2 separate regions of the Homo sapiens genome follow, and region 2 is linked to region 1. Evidence: promoter capture Hi-C in 16 types of primary human blood cells and fetal thymus (Javierre and others, 2016). All regions are on one chromosome and are shown on one strand. The core of a region is centred on a gene start or on the middle of the fragment in contact, and the rest is flanking DNA. Distances in the headings are between cores, read along the strand shown.

The links. Contacts are between HindIII fragments. The CHiCAGO score rates a contact against its expected background, and 5 or more counts as called.
Region 2: a fragment that was not itself captured here is called in contact with the fragment with the promoter of TPSD1 in region 1 in 3 of 17 cell types (M1 macrophages, M2 macrophages and erythroblasts); the score reaches 8.0 in M1 macrophages.

What each region holds. Positions count from the first base shown.
Region 1 is chr16:1,254,064-1,258,101 of GRCh38, reverse strand. It overlaps TPSD1 (tryptase delta 1), which reads right to left and starts at 2,033. Exons shown (of 5, transcript NM_012217.3): 1 at 1,740-2,033; 2 at 1,415-1,586; 3 at 1,040-1,305; 4 at 1-43. The coding sequence starts at 1,821. The HindIII fragment of the contact is 7,208 bases long and covers 521-4,038 here.
Region 2 is chr16:832,318-836,327 of GRCh38, reverse strand. No RefSeq gene overlaps it. Among named protein-coding and RNA genes, the nearest start is that of GNG13, 34 kb to the right of the region's middle. The HindIII fragment of the contact is 5,308 bases long and covers 1-4,010 here.

The DNA of each region.
Region 1 (4,038 bases), core at 784-3,283:
GGGACTTCCACCTCCTTCAGCGGGTATGGCGGCGGCAGGTGCACTGGGGGCGGAGGGGGGCGTGGAGCCGGGTCTGGGGCCGGCTGGGTGCTGCTTCGTGGACTTGGTGGCAGAGTCACGGGCAGGGGAGATGGCACCATGGGCCCAGTGCTGTTCTGTGCCTGCAGCCCCGGGGAAGGGGCGGTGAATGCAGTCCAGGCCCCTCCGCTGAGGCTGGTCCTGGGTCCCTGGCCTCATTTAAGCCCCATCTGGGGAAGGGAGGGGAGGGCCCTGGAGGTTGCCAAGCTGGGCTCCATGGCACGGGGGTGCAGAGCCCGACCCGTGTCTCCCCCTGGGCTCAGCTGACTTTCGTCTGGGCTAGGCCCATGGTCCACGGTTGGCCCTAGCCGAGGGGAACACAGGGCGCTGGGCTCAGCTTCCCCGCTGTGTGGGGCGGAATAGCGGGACAGTGGCTCAGGCCCCTTCTGAGTGACCCAGAGGTCACAGCCCAGGGTTGCCGCTCAGGCTGTACCCCAAAGCTTTGCTCTGAATTGTGGATAAAATGGGGACAAGACCTTCTAGAAGTGAAAATGTGCCTCGTGGAGGGCCACAGTGAGCTTCGTCCAGCCCCCCACAGCACTGCCACGACCCCGATTCCCAGGCCCCTGCCTTGTCTGTAGCACAGGGATGGAGGGCAGGCAGGTCTCATCCCAGCACCGGTCTCTCTCCTTCCAGCAAGACCCCCGTGTGATTTCTCTCTCCACATAGCAAGTCCGTGACGTACAAACTTTTGATGCACCCTTTCAGGCAAGGGGAAACCGAGGCACGGAGGTGCTAAGGGACTCTCCAAACCCCTGGGGTGGGGGACGCCCAGGCCCTTTGGACTCACCGTCTCTGCTCAGGGCACCTGCTGCCTCTCGCCACCGCCTGCTCCATCCATCCTGGCCTCCACAGTCCCCCTCCCTGAGCCGCCCTGAGGGACCCTGTCACCCCACGGACTGGCCTGTGGCTGTGACTTGGTGCCCACCTGGCCCGGCCTCCCGCTGTCCCCAACACCCACCATTATTGTCCACGTCGCCCCAGCCAGTGACCCAGCACGGCATCCCCGGGGGGAAGGTCTCCGAGGCAGGGGGCAGCGTGACCGTGTGGATGTGGCTGGAGATGTTCACGGGCTCCTCCAGCTCCAGCAGGGCGATGTCCGCCCCGGTCTGGATGATGTAGAACTGTGGGTGCACGATGATCCTGCTGACCGGCAGCAGCTGGTCCTGGTAGTAGAGGTGCTGCTCCCGCAGTTGCACCCTGAGGGCGGCCAGATCCTTGATGTCCCTGGGCAGCGGAGGATCCCACTCAGGGCCCTGGGCAGCCCCCAGGAGCACCCGGGAGCCAGGGCTCACATCCAGCCCTTGCCCACCCCTCCAGGCCCCAGGAGACTCACGGTTCCACGCAGTGCGCCGCGGTTAGCACCCACTGGGGGTGGATGAGGGAGCCCCCGCAGAAGTGCATCCAGTATGGGCCGCGGACTCTCAGGCTCACCTGCCAGGGCCACTTGCTCCTGGGGGCCTCCTGCCCCCCAACAATGCCCGTTTGCTGCAGGGCCTGGCCTGGGGCTGGGGCAGGTGCCAGGTCAGGACCAAGAAGCCGCCCCACGCCTGGGACCAGCCCTTCCCTGTGTGGGGGCCAGCCCGGCCTCCCCAGAACCCACCCAGGCCCTGATCTGTGGAATGTGGTGAGGGGCAGGGTGGACCCCGGCTGGGACTCACCAGGGGCCACGTAGGCCGGGCTCGCCAGGACGGGCAGCGCCAGCAGCAGCAGGCTCAGCATCTGGGGAGCAAGGAGGAGCATCGTGGGCCTGGCCGGGCCTCACAGGGCAGGGCTGGGGGCTACAGATTGTGGGGTGAAGAATGGAGCTGGGACGGGGGGACCGGGGTGGGTCCAGGCCTGCGGGCCTGGGTCTTGGTGCTCTGAGTCTGAGGCTGGGCCACTCTGCTCCAGGTGACGCTGATGTCAGGGTCTCTGAGAGTAGGGACTTACCCTGGCCACTCCCTGTTCCTTCTACCCAGCGGGCTCTCCCCTCCCCATTTATGCTTCCAGATCAGGAGGGGGCGGAGGAGGGGCGCTGGGTCCTCCCATCCAGACTCGGAGGAAGTGGATGACTCAGACCCAGGGCCCCCGTGTAACACATGCCCCCGCCACCCCGATGCCCTCTGTGTGTGGGGCTGCCAGGCAGGCCCCGCCGAGGGCTGAGCACTGGAGGCTCGCAGCTCCACCTGTCAGCTGGTGGATCCCAGCACTGGAACCCACCACCTTCCCGCTGGTGGGATCTGCTCCTGCCCCTGTCTCGGTGCCAGGAGGCCTTCAGGCATAGCTGCACCCAGGTGGCCTGGCTGCCCCAGGCTACAAGACCCGTCGCTCCTGAAACCTGTTTCCCCAAGAGGGACACGGGGTGAGGAACTCATGTCCATGGGCCACCCTCCAAGAGACGGGAAGGTGCCCACGGGGTGGGGACATGACGGGTGACACCCCTCCTACGGACTCCGAATCCACGGGGGTGGGGCCAGCCCTCCTCGACTCACTTGGTTGGGGGCTCACATGAGACCCCTTTGTCAGATGGGGAAACAGCCTTGAGAGGGGACAGCACCAAGTGTCCTCAGCCAGGAAGGGGCCCTGCTCCCCACCTCCCGTATGAGACCCAAGTCCTCCAACGATTCCTCAATGTCCACCTCTGGGGCTGTCCGTGCAGGTCCCCTGGTCTGCAGGTGCCTTCTTATCATGGGATCTGAGCTTCATCCGCAGAGGGAAGGGCAGACAGGAGTGCAGGTGCAACCCCAGGAGACCCAGCCCAGCTCCCCATGGACTCACCCCCAGCCCCAGCCCAGCTCCCCATGGACTCACCCACAGCCCCAGCCCAGCTCCCCATGGACTAGTCCCAGCCCCAGCCCCAGCTCCCCATGGAGTAGTCCCAGCCCCAGCCCCAGCTCCCCATGGACTCACCCACAGCCCCAGTCCAGCTCCCCATGGACTCACCCCCAGCCCCAGCCCAGCTCCCCATGGACTCACCCCCAGCCCCAGCCCAGCTCCCCATGAACTAGTCCCAGCCCCAGCCCAGCTCCCCATGGACTAGTCCCAGCCCCAGCCCAGCTCCCCATGGTCTCACCCCCAGCCCCAGCCCAGCTCCCCATGGACTAGTCCCAGCCCCCGGCCCCAGCTCCCCATGGACTCACCCCCAGCCCCAGCCCAGCTCCCCTTGGTCTCACCCCCGGCCCCAGCTCCCTGTGCTCTCCATCCCATTCAGCGCTGACACTGTCCCTGCAGCTCCGTCCACCCCACCTCCTGACTCACCTGGGCCTGTTGGTCACTGGGGCCTCCAGCCCACCTCCTCTGCTTCTGAGCCCCAGGACCCCCTGCCTGCCCCCCGACCCCCAACACAGGGCCACTCCGGGGCTCCTCCTGCCCCCACCCTGCCTGGGACCAGCCTGGTTTGAGGCTGACTCTGCACTGCGGGGCCATATCCATCTGGACTCCTTCCGGGCTGCACCCCCCGGGGGACAGGCAGGGGTGGCCCAGACCGCTCCTGCTCATGACCCTGCTTCTCCTCCATTCTCTGGACAAACTCCCCAGAGGCCTCCACCTGCCCCGTCCTGGTTCCATGAATGAGGCCCACAAGATGGGACCTTCAGGAGCCCAGGAGGTGAGGGGATGGGGTGACGGGGGACACCAGGGATGAGGGTGTGGCAGGGACACGGGAGACACCAGGGCTGACGGTGAAGAAGAGACTCAGGGGACACCAGGGCTGGGAGAACCCAGGGACACACGGGGACACCGGGGCTGTGGTGTGCAGAGGGCTCTGGGACCCCCGAGTCAGGGGCTCTGGGGCCGCTCCTCCTAGGAATGCTCCGATTGGGTCAGGCCTGGGAGGCGGACCAATCAGCACCATGGGGATGCGAGAGCCTTGATTGGCTAACACTGGGCCAATCAGGGCGCGTCCTGGGCACCCCGCCCCGATCCCCGGCCGCTCCCCTGGGGCTGCTGCAGGGCTGGGGTCCCAGGCCATTGACAGAC
Region 2 (4,010 bases), core at 1,229-3,728, 420 kb after region 1:
TATCCTGAAACACACATGAGGACAACGGTTCCCTCTGTGGGGGGGGTTACCTGGGGAGAGGCATGAGGAATGTTCAGGGTGTTGTTCTGTCTTGACCAAGGAGTGTTCTGTCTTGACCGAGCTGTGGGTTACTGGTGTCACATTTGTTAAAACTCATCCAGTTATAACCTAAAATATGTGCATTTTATGTTAGCGGTTGAGGACTCACCACTGCAAACCCTGCAGGCTCCATTTGGGGAGGCCCCCCTACATGTGGCTACTGTGCCCATAGCTGCCCAAGCAAAGGCCCCACGAGGACCTGGGCCTGTTGGTGCAGAGCCCTGTGAAGCGGAGGCTGCACCCCCAATAGGGCAATACCCAGCACCACCCCCATTACAGACCTTCCAGACCACCCTAGCATGTTCTCACACATGCTCAAAGAGAAAAGGCATCTCTCATCTTCGAGTGTTCCCTGTTCACCCTCTTTCCTTAATTTGCCTTACATGGTCACCCCTGAAAAGCCCCTTCTGAGCTATCCTTCCCTCCAGGTCCCAGAGATGCACAGCTAGGCACCCACAGGCCGCAGGCAGCTCCCGCCCAGATGATCCTCGGTGCTCCAGCACAGGGCCTCAGGCTGAGGTGTGGGGAGAAGTGTCCAGCCATGCAGCTGTGTGGCTGGTAACTCACCCCACTATTCCCAGGGGCTCAGAAGGGGACAGACGGTCTCAAGAGACAGGTCGGCCATCGCTGCACAGTGGGGGAGGCCACAGCTCTGTGTCCCAGACAAACGCCCAGCACGAAGGTCACACAGCCACCTCACTTGGGCGGGGGGTCGGGGGGGGGGGTCATGCCCAGAAGCAGCCCCTGTGTCTGGCCCAGCCCCTGGCCTGGCCTGGGGTCTGCAGAGCAGGCAGATGCCCTCCCCCTCCCCTTCAGGCCCATCACTTTGTGGGGTCCTCTGAAGCTGGGCCTGAGGGGGCTGCAGCCCCCAGACTGGTTTCCCCCAGTCCAGGCCCTCCTGGAGGCTCATGGCTTGGCACAGGCAGAAACCAGGGAGTTTGTGTGGGGAGGGCAGGGCAGGGCGGGCCACACATGGAAGGGCATCCTCTCTTCCACTCCCCACCTCCCTCCACAACACGAGTCATGCCCATTCCCCAGGCCAGTCTGGTCCCACAGGCCCAGGGTCACAGTCCACATGGAGTCTGGACAGCCATTTAATTTGGTGAGGGACGTGAGGATGGGATTTTGCCCCTACTAAAGACAAGTCTGTAATAATACGGCCACAAAAGTTCTAGAAGAAACCATTTTGCTACCCATGGTGACTCAGGCAAGGACCACCAAGGGGGCGAACTGTTTGGTGACAGGTAATAGGAATCGGAGACCACAGGGCAAGAGGAGCCCAGCCTGGGCCCATCACAGGGACAAGTGCAGCTGTGGTGTCGGTGGAACAATGCAGAGACGCAGACACAGCACCCAACAGAGGAGCCGGCTGAGGGTGCTGGGTGGAGACTGTGGGCTGAACTCCCAGCCCACGGGAAACTCAAGGAGTGAGGAATGAGGCAGACGGCACAGACGAGCTGGCTGAGGGTGCTGGGTGGAGACTGGGCTGAACCCCCTCAACCCCAGCCCACAGGAAACTCAAGGAGTGAGGAATGAGGCAGACGGCACAGGAAAGCATCAGGCGTATCAAAATGCCAAACTTCTGCCAAGACAACCAGGCTGGTACACAGGCCCCGCGAGCCACTATCCCTCAGTGGGAAATTTGAATTCTCCAACTTTGTTCCTTTTCAAGATGATTTTGGCTCTCTGCCATCTCTTGCAATTTGATATGAACGTTACAGTCACCTTGTCCATTTCTGCACACACAAAAATCAGCTGGGATTCTGATACGGATTGTGTTGAATCTGTAGATCAATTTGGGAAGTATTCTCATCTTAGCTATATTAAGATTTCCTATCCATGAACATGGATGTCTTTGCATTTATTTAGACCTTTCTTTCTTTCCAGTGTAGTTCCAGTGTACAAGTCTTGCACTTCTCTTGTTAAATTAATTTTTTTTTTGAGACAAAGTTTCACTCTTGTTGCCCAGGCTGGAGTGCAATGGCATGACCTCAGCTCACTGCAACCTCCACCTTGCAGGTTCAAGCGATTCTCTTGCCTCAGCCTCCCGAGTAGGTGGGATTACAGACCTGCGCCACCACACCCAGCTAATTTTTGTATTTTTAGTAAGACGGGGTTTTGCCATGTTGGCCAGGCTGGCCTCCAACTCCTGACCTCAAGTGATCCACCCACCTCAGACTCCCAAAGTGCTAGGATTACAGGCGTGAGCCACCACGGCCAGCACAGATTCGTGTTTGAATGCATGCACCTGTTCACTAATTCACTGGATTTGTTCTCTAATGGGAGTGTCCCCACGTCGGGAGACGCTGAAGTATTTACAGTCACAGTGTCTGCTGCTTTCTTCAAAACGGTGGGCAGAAAACACAAAGGCATGTGCGTAACGTGTAAAACACATATGGGCAAGTTGCCGAAATGGCTGACCCTGGGCCTGGGTGTGTGGATGTTCTCCGGGCTATTCAGCCTTTGCTTGAAAACCTTCAAGTCACACAGCTGCCAGGAGGTCATCACGTTGGCGTGACCCCTCCCCTAGACCCGGCCAAGGCTCTGGCTGAGATGACCTGGACGGTGCCCTCGGCTCAGGCACAGCTTGGGGAGGCTGCTTCTCCGGGAGAGGCGCCGGGGCTGCTGTCCCCAACCCAGCCTCCCCATGTGGCTGCCCTGGGCTGTCCGCTCGACGGCCCCCTTGCTGGGGCAGAACCTTCTCTACCATGGAGCAGGTGCCTTTGTCCATGGGCTCCCGGGCATGAGCCCCCTGCTCTCCCCCATCCAAGACGCAGACCCCAACCCAAGCCACTGTTCCAGGAATAAAGAGGCAGCCACTGCAGACTACAGGGATTTGTGAGCGAGATTGGTGGGATGGGTGATGGTGAGTGGAACACCCCTTCTCCCTACTTCCAGCCTCCTGCCTCGCACCCCCTCCCCTCGCCCCTCCTGGCCATGCTGCCCCACTCAGCCTCACGCAGCCTGGCCACATTGTCCCAACGCTGTCCTTTCAGAGTAGGGAGTAATGTTCAGCCCGACCCCGGTTCCCCGTGCCCTGAGTCCCCCACAGTTCCTCACAGTCCCCGTTAACAAGCACACTTGCAGGGGGCGGCCGTACACACGCAGAGCCCTTGCTGCCATGACAGGGCCAGCCCAAGAGGCGGGGGCTGCAGCCACTGCTCTCATGAGGGTGGCAGGAGATGCCAGCCCGGAGCCAAAGTGTCCGGAGCGGCTCACAAAAGGTAGCTCACAGGGGCGCCGCCCCGACACCGTGATCCACCCAGCTGAGCTCCCTTGTGATGGCCGTAAATTTTTATGAGCGCTAAAACAGCTGGGGCCTCACCTCGCCAGGGAACAGACTCAGAGCAAATGCTGGAGGTGACTGTCCTCCTGTTCTCGGAGCTGCCATGAAAAGCCTCTGCCACAGGGTGGATGGGGCGGAGCGGGGCGGGGCGGGGTGGCGGATGGGCTGAGGATCCACAGGGTGGACGGGGCGGGGCGGGTGCTACTGCTCTGACCTCCTGGACAGAGACGGCGAGGACAGGGCACCGGCTGGGGGCAGAGGCTGCTGTGACAGCCGTCCTGTCTCTGTCCTGCAGCCAGCCCTCCTGGCTCCGTCAGATCAGCTCCTTTCAAAGCCCAAACATCCCACAGCTAAACCTGGAGGGGGGCGCAGTGGCTCACACCTGTTGTCCCAGCACTTTGGGAGGCTAGGCCAGGAGGATCACTTGAGCACAGCGAGCCACGATCTTACCTGTACTTCAGCCTGGACAGCAGAGTGAGACCCAGCTCTAAAAAAAAGAGAGAGGCCGGGCACTGTGGCTCACGCCTTCACCCTACACCCTGACCACCCCACCCCCTCCCCACCCTCATGCTCCTCCCCTGCCTCATACCCCCTCCCCCCTCACACTCCACCCCCCCACGCCCCT